Regions from separate parts of the Homo sapiens genome. Here all the other regions are linked to region 2. Evidence: promoter capture Hi-C in human tissues and cell types (Jung and others, 2019). All regions are on one chromosome and are shown on one strand. The core of a region is centred on a gene start or on the middle of the fragment in contact, and the rest is flanking DNA. Distances in the headings are between cores, read along the strand shown. Region 1 has its middle 100 kb from the start of LINC01427. Region 2 holds the start of NXT1 (nuclear transport factor 2 like export factor 1). Region 3 has its middle 75 kb from the start of LINC01747. Region 4 overlaps LOC105372564 (a long non-coding RNA gene). Region 5 has its middle 140 kb from the start of LINC01747.

Region 1 (3,311 bases), core at 659-3,158, 970 kb before region 2:
TATATCTTTTGACATTTTCTATTTTTTGAACCATGTCTAAACTGCTCATTTAAAAATTTTAAGTTTGAGGATCTACACATAATATTAGCTCTACTCTTATCCATCTATAGAGAAAATATTTAAAGACAGACTGTTACTGTGAACTCAGCAAGATTTTTACATTAATTGTATTTTATCAATCACAGTAGCGTTTATCTGTTTGATATAGAATGGTGCAAATCACTTTAAGACAGACCATGTATGCGGGCCATGGATGATGCTTAGAGCATGTATGATTTGTGGACCCTGTAGTGACTCCTTCTCATGCCACTTCCCAGGGACATCATGGCCTTCTGCAAAGAGGTCTCTCTCTCTCTCTTTCTCTCTCTCTCTCTCTCTCTGGGTACCTGTGCATGTGTTGCAGGTGACCTGACATTCTTGGATCACTCTCCCAGAAAGCCATGTGTTGGACCCCTCCCTTTCTATCTTAAAATGCCCGATGTTAGAAGCTCATAGTAGTTGTAAAGGAGCTAATGTGATGCTTAAAAAGGGCTCAAAACATTGGTTCCCCCGCCCCCACCCCTCAGGGCCTGGGAAGTTTCCCTTTCTCTTTGGGAGAAAAGTTGCTTTTCATTTTTCACTTGTGCCTGTGTGTTCTCTGTTACGTTATTACTATTTCCATCAAAAAGCATTTTATAGTTCAATGTTTGGGGGAAATACAGTCCCATAAGCAGGCCCCTATTCAGGCCCCTATCCAGCCTCCTCGTCCTTTTGCCTCCTCACCCCTTCCTAGGGCCCATACCTTGCAGTGCCTTGTGTGAAATTTTCGAAGGCAGTCCTCACTCACAGCCCCACTTGGAATGTCACAAGCATTTAGCAGATTAAAGGCTCTGAAAAGCCCTGCAGTAAAGTAATGTTTAACTTCAATTAAACCACCCTCTCTCAAATTCACTTGACTGCTAAACTCTTTTTCAAAGAACACCTGTATGTATTCCAAAAAGTTCTGGATTAAATATTGTTAACCTCTCAAAGAACACAGGGTGGGGCCTATTTATCCTCTGTGTGCCTTCAAATCCCAGGAGGCTCAGGCCTTTTCTGCAATAAAAAATGTATTCATAACTCTTTAATTGCTCTCTTCCCTTCTTCCTCTCTGACTTATTTGTATAATATAAAGTTAGTGCGCTATATTTGAATAACATGGATAGAAATAAACTTTTAATGCCAGAACCTCCTCTCAAAAAAAAGTGGTAAAGCTAGAACTCTCACTGTAGTTGCCTGTAATTTAAAGTGAAAGGCTCCAAACAGGTGTTTCCCCTGGAAGAAATGTTCAAGCCTTGTTAAGAGTCTATAATATGTCAATATACACTGTTAAAAGAGATGACAGGTCATGTGCCACATGACAACAGTTTAGTCAAGATAGACTGCATATCAAATAGTGGTCCCATAAGATTATAATATTGTATTTTTAGGGTAGCTTTCCTATATTAGCTATGTTTAGATACACAAATACTTACCGTTGTGTTACAACTGCCTACAGTATTTGGTACAGCAACGTGCTGCCCCAGTGTGTAGTCCAGGAGCAATAGGCTAATGCCACATAGCCTGGGGGTGTAGCAGGTTCTACCATCTAGATTTGTGCAAGTACACTCCATGATGTTCACACAACAGCAAAATAGCCTAACAATGCATTTCTCAGAATATACTCACTCGGTTAAGCAACGTGTTTGTACTTTTCTTGTGACTTGAATCACTTCCGTTTTAAATCTGTAAGAAGCTGAAATACTATATCCTCTTTCTTTCTTTTAATAAACGAGTAGGAGACAGTGCACCTGGGCTCACTCGTCAGAGAGGCTGACCCATGTGAAAGGCAAGGAGTCCTGCCCCAGTCACTCATGCCTGTCGCCCATTATTTTAGTGAATTGTGGTGAAAACCCCAGCTCCATATAGGCTGGCTGTGTCTAGATGGTACAACTGAGTCAGCTGGGGAACACACAAGGCAGCATTGCAGACCATCATTGCAAAATAGCTGTGCATTCCTTCACCTGAGCTTTTGTGACGGGTGCATTGGGTTGGTAAAATGACTAAAATTATTCAGTTGCCCCTGTTCCGGTTGTAGAAAAATGCTCTTCACACAAGGAATGTTTTTGTGGTTTGCCACATTTGGAAATGTCAGCTACTTTGGAAATGCTGTATTTAGCCTCAAATCCCACACCCATTCAATGCTGTTAACCAGATCTCCAGGGTGTAGCGACAGTGCAAGTCCATGTATTTTGAGATCTATTAATACCTTTTGGTTACCAAGTGGCATTTGCTTCCCGTATATTGCCATGAAACAGAACAGCAAGGTCCAAGTTTGCCCTGGTTTATGAAAAGGACCTCATCGTACTGAGATAGTTTGTCAAAGTTAAAGTTAAAATCCCAGAGGGGCTTTCTTATTCTCCTGTCCTCCCATGAATTTTTGATGCATCAGAAAATCACATTTTAAAGGCATGAAAGTGGGGTGAAGCAACAATTTTCACCAGAACTGTGAGTGTGAAGGAGTGTGTGTGTGTGTGTGTATGTGTGTGTTTTGTTTCTCCAAGTCTGTTTAATGGGAATACTCAATGTTAAGTCTCCCAGTGGTGCCTGAACTTATATATGGTAATATTCACATAAATGCAATATGTGCTTCCCTTTTTTGACATATATATAACTTGTCATTTCATTTCTTGGGACTAATAGGCAAAACTAATATTTCTAGAGAAATCTGAGAAAGCATGTGTGTGCTGTATACACGTGTATGTCCCCAGAGTGTTTTATTGCTTAGAAACCAAAAGGGATCACAAGATTAGAATCTGTGCAGGGCAGCCTAACCTGACCCTGTTCATTGATTCATTCATTCATTCAGTGGGATTTGAGTGCCAACTGCATACCAGGACTATCTGGATGCTTCACTGAATAGAAACCACCCACTGGACTTATTTTGGGGGAGTTGGTAGGGAAAGGGGAGGATGACAGACCATGAAGACAATACTTGAGTAAATTGCTCTCGGCCCTCCTCTCACCCCAAGGGCCCTCTTGGGTAGGGAGGGGTTGGGAGGTCCTCTCCTTAAGGGAGGGGTCTCTCTCAAGCACCTTCCCCCTGTAGCTAAGCAACCCCCAACTAGACCATGTTACTTAAGGGCCTGGCTCAGGTCACCTGCCCCCTTCCCACAACCCCACTCTCCCCGAAATGCCAACCTCATCACTGTGCTGATTCATTCCAAGCCATCCCCTGAAACCTAAAATCCTTTAAAATGCCTCTACCTCTTTCTTTATTAATCCACCCATTTTTCAGATCACCGAGGTACTTT
Region 2 (3,051 bases), core at 515-3,014:
TGCAGTTGAGGAGCATGATTTGAACCCAGGTTTGTCTGTTCATTCAAACAGTATTTATTGAGCCCTTGCTTTGGGTCAGGCACAATTTTATATGCTGGAGACACAAACCTAAAAGGACCCTAACCTAAAAGGCAGACCCCACAAACCTAAAAGGCAGAACAGCTGCCTTTCAAAGCTAAAGTCTCGCATTTTTAAAAGGCCTTGGAGCTGCATTAATGTTCTTCTAATTTTTCTAGGTATGAATCTTCATACTTTTCTAGGTATGAATCGACCCTGTGACACCAGGATGGTTCTTTGTCAGCCTCCTTGTCTATAAAATCAGAAATAATGGTACCTCCCCCAATAAGTTATGTGAAACAAATTAAAGGGGCTTATTATACAGGAAACAAAAGCAGCACAGCATCCAAACTACTGAGCGTGCAGTAAATCAACGCATTCCCACTTCCATTCCATCCACGCTGATTTAGATCAATCCAAGTATCACTGCCTTGGGGTTCAAAAGGCCATGTTAGTTCACAAAGCCCCGAAAATGCTCTTTCACACTCTCTGCTCAGCCTCCAACGTGTCTTTTTAATAATCCAAACTTTCCACCTACTTAACTGAAGTGTGTGGGGGGAGAGGGTGCGGGGGGGAAGGGGTGGCCTATACTAAATAGCCCAACTGTTTTCCACTTGTCCTGAAATCTGAGACCAAGATTCTCTTAGGAATGCAAGCAAAGGGAGCCGACGGGACGCCAAGAAAGCACAGGTTAAACTACCTCACTTCATCTAGCCCCATTTCTCTCCTGGCTTTTCAATTAATTATTCAGCCTCAGACCAGCAGATGGAGCTGAAAATGTTGTCTAAAGAAATGAGGTTTTTCTTTTAATTTACAAGCTATAGTTTCTCATGCCTCCACACTGAATGGTTACATCCTGTTGAGCCTGTTCGTAAAGTTCAGTAAAAATCCAGTTCTCATTCCAGAACAGCTGAATCGTAGCTATGAACGCGGAAGAACAGAGTCCCAACCCCAGCCGGGCCCGGGTTTCCCGGGGCCCCTCAAGCCTCAGGGCAGTGGAGAGCCGCCGTCACGCCCCCGCCTCCCCCACGTCCCACCCTCGCCCCAGTCTCCTCCCACTTTTAGCTACTTTTCCCATCTGACTAAAACTGGCTTCCTCCGTGTCCACCAAGATGTCGCCTCTAAGTGGCCTAACTCCTAAAGAGCGCGATCGGCTCAAGCACTCCGCCACGCGGTTTCCACGGGGCGCGGCCGGCGTTGCCCTCGCCGTGGCCTCAAGCATTGCGGCGCCCCACATGTTGCCAGACGGAAGGCCTCGGCGGGGTCAGGCAGCTGCTGCTGGCCGTGACTACATCACTGGTGACGTTTCACGAGACTTTTAACTGAAATCACTCCAATACAGGCGCATGCGGGACGAGGGGAAAGCATCTCACCCGACCCCACACACCTTCCCCTCCCTCTCCAGCCTAGCGGCCTCCGCTCAGCGGAAAAAAAAGCAGACGCTACTCCCCGCTCTAGGTGCGGGACCTAAGAGGTTTGGCCCAATCAGGCATCCCACCTAACCAGACGGGCCGGAGTCTGTGGCCCGGTTGGACCAACGAAAACTCTAGGGCGGATTTGCCGGGATTTCTGGGAAAGTGACACTCCCGGAAGCTACCGCCTCTTATAAGCCACACATGGGCGGAGTTAGCCTTCCGGCCCGCAGTCCCACTGGCTGACTTCGCTGCCCGTCACGGGAATGCGGGAGAGGGCGGCGCCGGGGCGCTCGCGTCTGCGTGGAGACCGGCTGGCCGCGCGCGGGAAGCCGCGGAACTGCGCCGGAAAGTCCCCCGGCTCTGGGGCCCCGGTGACCCAGAGTAAGCCTCCAAGAAGGAGGAGGAGGAGAGAAAGGCGGCTCTTCCCGTGCCCCTACCAGAGGCTTCGGTGGGCCCACCTTGTGACCTCCGCGGCCGGCCCCTCAGTGGAACTGCGTCCCACGCGGGGGGCGTCCCGACCGTGGGGGCCGCGGCCCGCGCTGACCCTGGACGTCGCCGCGCAGGTACGTTGCCGTCCCCCGGCGGTCTGACCCCCGAGACAGCCCCTAGTGCATACCCCACGCCCTCCTCCATTGTCGAGAATGAGACACGGCTGTGCCTTTGTCCACGTGGTAGAGTTGCCGCCGCGGTGAGGCTCTCGCCTGTGCAAAAAGCGTGGCAGCGAATTCTCATCAACGAGGGGAGGCGCGTCCCCTCACAGCGCAGCTCTCGGGTCTGAGGAGGGCCGGGCAGGGCGTGCGTCTGTCTAGGTTTGAATTAAAGGCGACTCACAGGAAATAAGGCCATGCCACTGTGGTAGCTTTTCCCGTCCATCTCCGGACACTCGACGGTGTGGGTCGTGCGAGGAGGCGGCAGTCTTCACAGCCTCTTACTCTAGTCCTCACGGTCAGGTTCTTTTTCTGATTTGACACAGACAGCGGGACTGACGACCTCATAGGTAGCTGAAAACCGTAAGTGGAGATGGTCCTTCTATGGTGTGTGGGGGCGTGGCCAGTTGTTAGATTGTGTTTGGAAAGACAGCCAGGGGCGGAGAAGAGGGGCATTTCTGAGATGATGGGGGGACTGGTGCCATGGAGGGAGGAGGAGTGAGGTGGAGATCGGGAATTCCAGCCAAAGAGAAATGGGGTCCCTGGGAGAAAATTCCCACTCTAGCAGTCCTGGAGTTGTGCTCATGGAGACTTGCTTACGCGAGTACAAGGACAGCGTTGTATTGACAAAATTTCAGCCCTCAGTCTAGTCTTGTAAACGATAGATCAGGAGTGTACTTAACCGTCGTTACTTTGATCCAGCCCTAGGTTTCCCTTTTCTCATTTGTAAAATTGTTATAGTAATACCTTTTTCATCCATTTGTGGTAACATTTAAATGAGGTAATTTGTGTGAAGCCCTTAGCAAACACAGCGCTTCTTAGTCGTGGGTTCCGCGTGGGGTGGATTCAACCAACCTCAAATCAAAAATATTCTTCAGAAAAAGAAAAATGCGTTTGTACTGAACATGTAGAGGCTTTTTTTTTCTTGTCAT
Region 3 (3,063 bases), core at 390-2,889, 590 kb before region 2:
CTGGATGGCTTTGGTTGGTATAACCAGATTCATGAATGGACAGGCCCAGATGCCTGCCCTGTGTGACCAGGTTATGATCCACAAGCAGAAAAAACAAAGATCCTTTTAGCCTCCTGAAATCCCTTGAATGTGAAAACACAGTCATCACTCTGGGCAATCAGAGAGGCCAGAGCCCTGTTTTTTGTGTGGCTGCTACATGGGATTTCAGAGGGGTGCGAAGCCTTTATTTCCAGGCTCAATTTGATCTGCTGCTTGAAGAGCTCAACAAAATGAGTCCAAGTGTTAGAAAAATTCAAACCCAGTTGAAGGATGAGGGTGGTTTCTCATAAAGCAGTGAGTTGTCCTGGCTCCTTAAATTGGCTGAGAACAAGGAAGGGCTGTTCAGCCAAATTTTTCTTTCGCAGTTCATAAAAACTTGACCATGCATAATAAAAGCTTACATTTACATAGCACGCTTGAGTTTCCACAGTGCTCATGGGTTTATTCTTTAAATGTTGTGGTTCCTAAAGACAGTTTTACAAATGAGGAAACTCAAGGTTAAGAAGGGTAAGTGATTTTCCCAAAGTTACAAAGCCAATGAGGGTCAGGCTGGGGTCCAGAGCCTCTGAGAATCCTCTCGTCACACCACCATGGGGCTGGGTCATTTCCCTGGGGAAGGATTTAAAATATATATATATATACACATATTTTAACTTTAAGTTCTGAGATACATGTGCAGAATGTACAGGTTTGTTACATAGGTATACATGTGCCATGGTAGTTTGCTGAACCTATCAACCTGTCTTCTAGGCTTTAAGCCCTGCATGCATTAGGTATTTGTCCTAATGCTCTCCCTCCCCTTGCCCCCCACCCCCCAACAGGCCCCCGTGTATGATGTTCCCCTCCCTGTGTTCATGTGTTGTAATTGCTCAACTCCCACTTATGAGTAAGAATATGTGGTGTTTGGTTTTTTGTTCCTGTGTTAATTTGATAAGAATGATGGCTTCCAGCTTCATCTATGTCCCTGCAAAGGACATGAGCTCATTTTTTTTTTTTTTTTAATTCGAAGATGCTTGAAGCTTGTTTTCATCCATACCTGCTTGGCATTTTGAGTTTACAGAGCTTTTCTGCAGACACTTGAGGGTTTCTGTTTTTGTTTTTAGATTCAGGGGGTGCATGTGCAGGTGTGTTACATGGGTGTATTGTATAATGCTGGAATTTGGGCTTCCATTGAACCCATCACCCAAATAGTGAACATGGTGCCCAATAGGCAGTTGTGGTAGGATATTAGGTGGAGACCCATGAGCGTCCAAATATGGGAAGAGCTGACCCCCATCCTCCATGCTATAAGGAAAGTGGTAAACTTTCCATGAAGGACAAGTTAGGAAGGTCCACACACTTTCTCTGCAACTGACGGCTACCTTCAACCTTTACATATAGGAAACATGGTGAGAGGGGATGGGACAAGGGGATTCAGCTCATCAGTGTCAGCTCCACTACATGGTTCCGTTGTAAGGATTAAATGAGGTGATGCTATGTAAAAGCTGAAGAAATACTGGTATCTTCCACATACCTCTTGGGGTCAAAGAGGAGAGATGGACACCAAGCGACCACCAGGGCTGTTGGCTCCATTCATAGGACTGATTTTGCTTTAGCCACTCCTCTTAAATCCCTACCAATGGCTTTCCTATGTACCCCTGTCACTGCTAGGCCTGCAGCTCTGCAGTGAACTTCTGCTGCAAGAATGAGGTCTCGGATGGGTCTTTCCTGAGAAACCCTTTCCTGAGAAATATTTTCTCTGGGAATAGGACTCCCAGAGGGACTGGGTTGGCTGGAATCAAAGCAAGCGAAAGTAGTTCATTCTCCCCCTTGGTGCCACACCACACTCTCCTCCTTCTGCCCTGGCAAGCCGTTCTTTCCCATCTGGGAAGCCCTGGCTTGGTGGGAAGCAGGAGCATTAATAAGCCTCAGTCAATAACCAGTCCCATGGTTTCAGCTGGTTGTGCAGAGCTCCCAGGCCTGTCAGTGACAGAGCAGCTGAAAGAGAGGCCCACACAGGCCACAGTCAGCAGTGGGGATCCAGGGGCAGCCCACTGCCAAAGGCTGGTGGCCTCCTTCATGGTTTCCACCCATAGGGGTGAGCTGAAGGGAGGCTGTACTCTAGAACCTTCTAGAAAGCCAAGGTCACAGTTGCCCTGGCCAGCCAGCCTCAACTTCAAAGAATTCACAAGCAGGGGGCATTCGCTCTGGGACGCAGCATCATCCAAAGAAAATGCAGCTTTCCTCTCATGCAGTGTCTGTGAAGATGTCGTGTTGTCAGAGCATTGTTCACCAGGTCCTCTGACCCTAACACACGCTGGAATGCCAGCCTCTCTCCCCTCCCCAGATGCTTAGCCAAAGAAGCCACTTTGCATGGAGGCAGGAAAGAAAGAAGGCAAAGGACATAGCTGGTTTCACTCTGTGGTCTCAAGTTCAAAACAGTTACCCTAGCGCAGGGCCACCTGGTAAAAATATGACCCCAGCCACATGTACCATTTTAAAATATCTAATAGCCACATTTAACAAAGGGAAAATGGTAAAATTTACTTCATTGATAGATTTTACTTAACCTGTTGTATCAAAAGTATTATCATTTCAGCTCTTAATTATAAAACAAATGTTAGTGAAATATTTTGCATTCTTTTCTCATATTGTGTCTTGAAGCTGCCTTGGAGCACTGTTTCCTTTTACCTCAAAGGTGATCGCCAACCCCCTGTAATAATCAGGACTGAATATTAAAACATAATATAGGAAAATATATATTATGTTTGTATAAGGTTTACTATGCCTCAAAGAACCTTCACATTCTTTTTTTTTTTTTTTTTTTTTTTTTTTAAGATGGAGTTTTGGAGTGCAATGGTGCGATCTCGGCTCACCCTAACCTCTGCCTGCCAGGTTGGTTCAAGTGATTCTCCTGCCTCAGCCTCCTGAGTAGCTAGGATTATAAGCAGGCACCACCATGCCTGGCTAATTTTGTATTTTTAGTAGAGACGAGGTTTCTCCATTTTGTCTAGGCTGGTCTCGAACTCTCGACCTCAGGTGATC
Region 4 (3,116 bases), core at 575-3,074, 840 kb before region 2:
GTTCGAAATGCATCTGCTGGGGATTTATATTTCCTAGATTTATATTTCCTATTGGGATTGATTCATTTGCTACTTTTGTGGAAAAAGGTAAACACCATTGTAAATTCCATCCGGTGAATCATGGGGAGGCGGTGGTTCCAATTAAACGTGTTTGCTTTCGGAAGGGGGCCCTTGGCTTCTTATCTTTATGTACAGAAGAAAATAGAGCTCAACCGGGCCTCTGCAGCCAATGGAAACGCACCTGGCCCAGTCAGCTGCTAGGCTGAGTCTCTGCTGCTCTGGGCTCCAACTCGCTCCTCTCGGTTGTTTGCAGACAAAGGGAGAGTAGCTGCGGGTCATGCAGAGGGGACAGTCCCCTTGGCTCTGCCTATAGTCCCAAAGCAAAGCAGGGGGTGCAGCTACTATCTGGGTATGTTAGGAAAGGGTGATGGCTGATCGGTTTAGTATTTCCAACAGTTCAAATGTCTTTATCTTCTTTTAAAGGTAGTGCATATCTATCCCCACCTAATTGAACCAGTGCTGTATTTACTTCAGGCAGCCCCCTCTGCCTAAATTAGATCATTTCTAGCTATAAAATCAAGAAAGTGTGCCCAGCAGATTAAGCCCTAAAAGTGGACTTGTTAACTACATCTACAGAAGCAAAGAGAGCAAGAGAATTTTTATATACTCTCCCTCTCTCCCTCTCTCTCTCTTTTCTCTCTCTCTCTCCCTCTCTCCCTCTCTCCCTCTCTCTCTGCCTCTCTCCCTCTCTCCCTCTCTCTCTGCCTCTCTCCCTCTCTCCCTCTCTCTTTCCCTCTCTCTCTCCTTCTCTCCCTCTTGTTTCTCTCTCTCTCTCCCTCTCTCCCTCTTGTTTCTCTCTCTCTCTCTCTCTCATGCATGCACCACACACCCCTACCTTTAGAACTAGGAAACTAATTCGCCTTCCTGGCTCCAGGCCTCAGCATCTCTGCTTAGCATCAGGCATTTGTCATATAGATCTCAAATCAGGAGGCTTTAGTGAGCAGCTAAGGGCTGACAATGTGTCCCAGGGAAAAGAAACCCATAAAGGAGAAAAGCAAAGGTCTGAGAGGTTCACCTGCAAATTCTGGACATTGAAAGCAACTGTACGTCTCCTCAGGTGCAAATAATTGAAATAATACTACTACTCAGGCCATGGTGCAGTGTGCTCACCCAAGGCCCTTCTTGTTTTATTTTATTTTACTACTTTCCCCTGGATTCCCTGTGTGTTCTGGCTCCCAAATCACTCACTCACTTAGGAACCTCCTGGAACGGGTTTCCTAGTTTGGGTTTGGAACCTGTCTAGAAGCTTCTATTGGGAGAGAGAGTGCTGTTTGTGACTCCATGTCGGCAGCTTTCCTTTGATTCCTCTAGTCCAAGGCTGCTATTTTTCCTAAGCCGTTGTCCATCTGGGTCTAAATGTATTGGCGTGTAGAGTTTCACAGACACTTTTGCCATCTCATTTTTCAAAGAATCACATTTTAATGGGGATTTTTGGCAATTTCATTGATTTTTTTAAACTCACTTTATATCTTTTTCTTTGCTTTGGTTTTATTCTGTCATTTTTCTTTTTCTTTTTCTAATATGTTTAGTTATGTCCTTAGGTATGTGGTCTTTCGGTGTCTTGTTTGCTATTTGTGTATTCAAAATTATGTAAAACTTTAAGTGCAACTTGAGAGTTATGGGTCATAAAGTTTGACATTTGACACTTTTGTTCTTATCCAGTTCCAAGTATTTTGTAATATCTTTTAAATTTCCTCTAAACCCCAATGGTTATATACCATACATTATAATGTTTTATGTGTCCAAGAGATGGTCGAAGTGGTTTTATTGCCATTACTGATTTTTTAACTTTATTTCATTATAATCAACACATTGTGTATGTATTGATTACTTGGCATTTACAAAAGTTTTCTTTGTTCCATGGGAATTAAAATGAATATTCTCTGTGGGTGTAAGTTATGTACATCTATTAGATCAGTGTTGTCCAAAAGAAATATAATGCCAGCCACATATATAATTTTATATTTTCTAGAAGCCATATTAAAAAGTGAAAATGCACAGGTGAAATTAATTTTAATAATATTATTTAAGACAATATATACAAAACAACAATTTGAACATATAATCAATATAAAAATATTAACAAGATGCTTTACATTATTTTTCTGTATTGAGTGTTAGAAACCTGGGGTGGATTTAGCTCTTTCAGTGCATTTCAATACAAATACTAAAATTGGATACACTTGATCTGTATTTAGATTTCAATTTACAATTGAAAGAGCAGATTGTTCTAAACATACTTAAAAGTTTTTCAATACCTGAATTAAGTATTAGGTTTTAAAATTTAAATTAATTAAAATTAAATAAAATCTTAAAATTTTCTTGCATTAGCTACACTTCAAGTGCTCAAGAGTTATGTAGCTATCGGCTACTGTATTGGACAATATAACATTAAGTAACTGTTATAATGCTTCTCAAATATTCCAAATTATTGGTAATTTTTGTCTCCTTTGTCAGTGTTTTTTTAAAAGATTTATTGACATCTCTCCTACTATTATTATATCTATAAGACCTTACATTCTGAAATTGTGTGTGTGTTTCACCCCCTGTTTATTTTTTTCCTCTTTCTGGGACTCCTGTTATAGGGAGCCATGTTCTTAACTATTACTTTCCGTCTCAATCTCTTCATCTTGCTGAGTCCTTCCTGATTTGTTCTTCCACTGAATCCACCCTACTATTCAGTCCCTCAATTATGCTCTTTATTCCAACAATTAAAGTCTGTTTGTGGCTGTGTGTTCTTGTTTTGTTTTTCCTGATCTGTTTGAGAATATTTATTAAGCTTCCTTTAATTCATGCCCTGCCTGAACTCCCCTACCATCTCATCTAGTGTGTGTGGCTCAGTTATTGGGCTGGCCCTGACCCTTTCATATCCTCCTGAGCCCACATGCATGTGGAAACACCGGCTGCCTTGGCTGGTCTGACATCCCTGGGAGAAGGAGCAAAGGCCCAGGTGCAGGCCTTGCCTGCCTCGTGGTGAGGATGAGCCTGGGGGATGACATCGGGGTGCGTGGCTTCCATGTTTATTGTGGGCTGGACCTCCCCTGAGTGACCCACCC
Region 5 (3,095 bases), core at 415-2,914, 520 kb before region 2:
TGAGGCTGAGGCAGGGGCGGTCCGGGCAGAACAGTTGCCAAGTTTCCGCCTCTGCAAGGCACACCATGGTGAACAAAAATGCCAAATCCTCCTCCAGATCCCCAGAAAGAGCCAGCTCTCCTGTTTGTCTCTCGTGGACTGCTGTGACCTGTGACCAGGTAATTAGGACTCTGGGTGACATTTCTCTCATTTAAATTCTCAGTTCTCTGTTCAAATCTAGAAAGAACAGCTCTCATTGAAAGGGTATGTTGGGAGGGTTTCTGTCAGGGCCCTGGGCCTCTTGCTGTCTGCCCTCACTGTGGATGTGAGAAGCAGAGATGTGTTCGGGTCATATGTACAGGGGAAATGGAGGGGTATCAGCGAGTATTTCCACTGGAAGGCACTACAGTGGGGCTGTTTGAGGCTGAGTTTTTGTTTTCTTTTGAGACAAGGTCTTGCTCTGTCACCCAGGCTGGAGTGCAGTGAAGCGATCAAGGCTCACTGCAGCCTTGACCTCCAGGCTCAAGTGATCCTCCCACCTCAGCCTCTCGAGTAGCTGGGACTATAGGTGCATACCATCATGCCCAGCTAATTTTTGTATTTTTTGGTAGAGACAGGGTTTTACCATGTTGCCTAGGCTGGTCTCAAACTCCTGGCCTCAAGTGATCCTCCTGCCTCGGCCTCCCAATATGCTGAGATTACAGGCATGAGCCACTGCACCTGACCTTGGATTTTATTTTTTTAAGATTCTTTATGAGCAGGCTCAAAGCCATTCTTCAATCACGAGGAATGAATGACCTCCAGCCCACGGTTGAAATTTCTGACAGGATGGAGTCATTTTATGGTTTCCTTCTGGGCCTGTCCTGGCAAGTGGGAGGCACAAGTGAGTACAGCCTGGAAAAGAGCATTCCACCTCATTTTCAGCTCAATTAACCTTTCCTGAAATGCCACAGTCCCTCAGAGAGGGGCCCTCCTGGGCCACATGAGATGGGAGGTGGAGGTTCACCACCAAGGCAGAGCAGGTAGATATGCTCCTTTAACTTTCTGGAGGCTGAGATAAGAACAAAAGCCATGAGCTCCCTATGGTTTGGGTTGAAGAAAAACCTCATTCATCCACTCCAAGGTGGTTTACATCCAGGCCAGGTGGGACGCCCTGGCTTTCCGCTCTCCCCTCAGAAAAGGGCTTGACCGAGGAAAGAGATGCAAGCAAAGTAGGCTGCAGGCACATTGAGCTCTCTGAAGACATGAGCCTGTTCCTCCAAGTGAACCTTGGTGGGTGTGGCCCCGGATCCCATGGAGGTGTCAGAGCTACCATCCACTCCCACATTGGACAGGGACGGCTGGAGCCAGGGCTCCTGGGCTCAGTAAACAAGTCCTCCTTTCTTACAGGACACTTGGAGGCAGCTTTTAACAACTCAGACCAGATGAGTGAGCACATTCTCACACATGTCCCATATTTCCCAAGTCAGTAACCAGCCCCTTGCAGAAGGCTGGTGATGCTTTACACCTTGGGGTCCTTCAGAGAAATGGGTTTGTCGTACAGCGTATCCTTTTCAACATGGATAAGCATTTTATTGTGCATTAATTCTAATGTAACGTTAATTGGAAATAATCCTTCTGGTGAGAAGAGCATAATTCTGCTGGCTTCTGGAGACTGGAAGAAGCTTTAGGACCCTCAAGGAGGAAGCCCTGTGGGAGGAGGAAGTGGCCATCATGAGCTTCAGCGAAGACGGCTCTGCAGGTTGCATTGAACTTGCGGACAAGTCTCCACCCGACTACCCCAACCTGGCAATTATGATCTGCTTATCAGGGGAGCAGTGACTTGACAGTCTGTCTCAGTTTACTTGTCTATAAAATGGTTATGAATAATCATATTGGCCTCATAGGGTTATAGTGAGAATTATAGCCACTGGCAGAGAGCACCCAGCCAGCCCCATTCCTGGAGAAAAGCAGAAGTTTAGTTCTTGGAAAAGTTGCATATAGATTCTTAAAGAAATGATGTCACAGGGACTTCCTTGCTATCCCTAAAAACCAGGGACCTGTTTTTAAGTCAGTGACCCAGCCTGCTACAGTGGAATCCCAGTTTTAGGATAATGTGAGGTCAGCTTTCCTCACTCCATTGCATGCCAGGGCCCACCCTTGGGTTTTAGGCTTGAAAAAGTTATAGTTACCAATATCCTCCTTCAGTGACTTTCCATGGCTTGGAGAAGACAGTCCAGATCCCCATCCTGCAGCATAAGGGCCCTGTGTGACCTGCCACCACTCAGTCATCTGCAGAAGGCTGGTGCCTGTGCACTCTATGTTCTGCTGATCGAGGTGCCCTCACCTTTCCCAACACATCATGTGGGGACACGCCCTATCTGTGTGCACAGGGAATGCTGTGGAATGTATGTAGAGCACCCTCCCTCATCTCCTTGGAATGCTTCTATCATCTCTCAAGATGCAATTCACCTTGTCTGGGAAACCCTTTTGAATCCCGCAGCAGTTATCTGCTCACTCCTCTGACCTGTGCACACACCTCTGAGATTGTACCATGCACTGTGTGGGAGCAGTCTTCTCCTAGCATTCTTCTCTAATAGGGAACTCTGCCTTCCCACCTTCTATACCTGGCACACGGACAGTGCTATAAATGTTGGTTGAATATAGAAATTGGTAGGAGGAGATCTGGAGTCAGGGCTCAGTGCTCCTGGGGATGGCTCAACTCCTGTTCTCAGGCAGAATGAAATCCCTAGCAAACTGCAGAGCAACCAAGGAGAAAACCTATCTCAGAAGTTAGCGCCCCCAACACACTGAAGTCTTGGATCAAGCATTTACCCACCTGCTAGAGATCAGTGGCTCTGGAGGAAGCAGCACGTAGACCTTTGTTCCTGGGCAACACTAACCCGCGGCATACCTGAGGAAATGTGAACCTGTTATCTGCTAGTTTTTGAGATCCCCTTTACCTCCACCTGGTGGGGAACGAGGCATCCCCTGCTGTCTGTTTTTTGCCCTCTTGATACCTGGATTCTTCTACCAGAATTAAATGTCTAGGATTTCAGTAGAGACTTTTCAAGGGGCTGAGACCTTCTGAGCCTGAAGAGTGTTATTCCTCTCTCTTGCTCTCAGCAGCTTGATTT

The links. The method cuts DNA at HindIII sites, captures the fragments that hold promoters and counts their contacts. A contact is called where the count stands out against the background at its distance.
Region 1: a contact is called between a fragment that was not itself captured here and the fragment with the promoter of NXT1 in region 2, in 1 of the 25 tissues and cell types used here (lymphoblastoid cells).
Region 3: a fragment that was not itself captured here is called in contact with the fragment with the promoter of NXT1 in region 2 in 1 of the 25 tissues and cell types used here (thymus).
Region 4: a contact is called between a fragment that was not itself captured here and the fragment with the promoter of NXT1 in region 2, in 1 of the 25 tissues and cell types used here (H1 embryonic stem cells).
Region 5: a contact is called between a fragment that was not itself captured here and the fragment with the promoter of NXT1 in region 2, in 1 of the 25 tissues and cell types used here (H1 embryonic stem cells).

The regions. Positions count from the first base shown.
Region 1 is chr20:22,381,205-22,384,515 of GRCh38, forward strand. No RefSeq gene overlaps it. Among named protein-coding and RNA genes, the nearest start is that of LINC01427, 100 kb to the left of the region's middle. The HindIII fragment of the contact is 8,346 bases long and covers 1-3,311 here.
Region 2 is chr20:23,349,027-23,352,077 of GRCh38, forward strand. NXT1 (nuclear transport factor 2 like export factor 1) reads left to right here and starts at 1,765. Exons shown (of 2, transcript NM_013248.3): 1 at 1,765-2,035. NXT1-AS1 (NXT1 antisense RNA 1) reads right to left here and starts at 2,441. Exons shown (of 3, transcript XR_937384.2): 1 at 2,304-2,441. RefSeq lists enhancers at 766-1,638, 1,347-1,486, 1,406-1,700, 1,639-2,510, 2,567-2,616 and silencers at 1,057-1,186, 1,807-2,076. The HindIII fragment of the contact is 17,754 bases long and covers 1-3,051 here.
Region 3 is chr20:22,758,628-22,761,690 of GRCh38, forward strand. No RefSeq gene overlaps it. Among named protein-coding and RNA genes, the nearest start is that of LINC01747, 75 kb to the left of the region's middle. The HindIII fragment of the contact is 6,241 bases long and covers 1-3,063 here.
Region 4 is chr20:22,512,443-22,515,558 of GRCh38, forward strand. The region is part of intron 2 of LOC105372564 (a long non-coding RNA gene); the gene reads right to left. Among named protein-coding and RNA genes, the nearest start is that of LINC00261, 65 kb to the right of the region's middle. RefSeq lists an enhancer at 303-804. The HindIII fragment of the contact is 4,166 bases long and covers 1-3,116 here.
Region 5 is chr20:22,825,744-22,828,838 of GRCh38, forward strand. No RefSeq gene overlaps it. Among named protein-coding and RNA genes, the nearest start is that of LINC01747, 140 kb to the left of the region's middle. The HindIII fragment of the contact is 7,062 bases long and covers 1-3,095 here.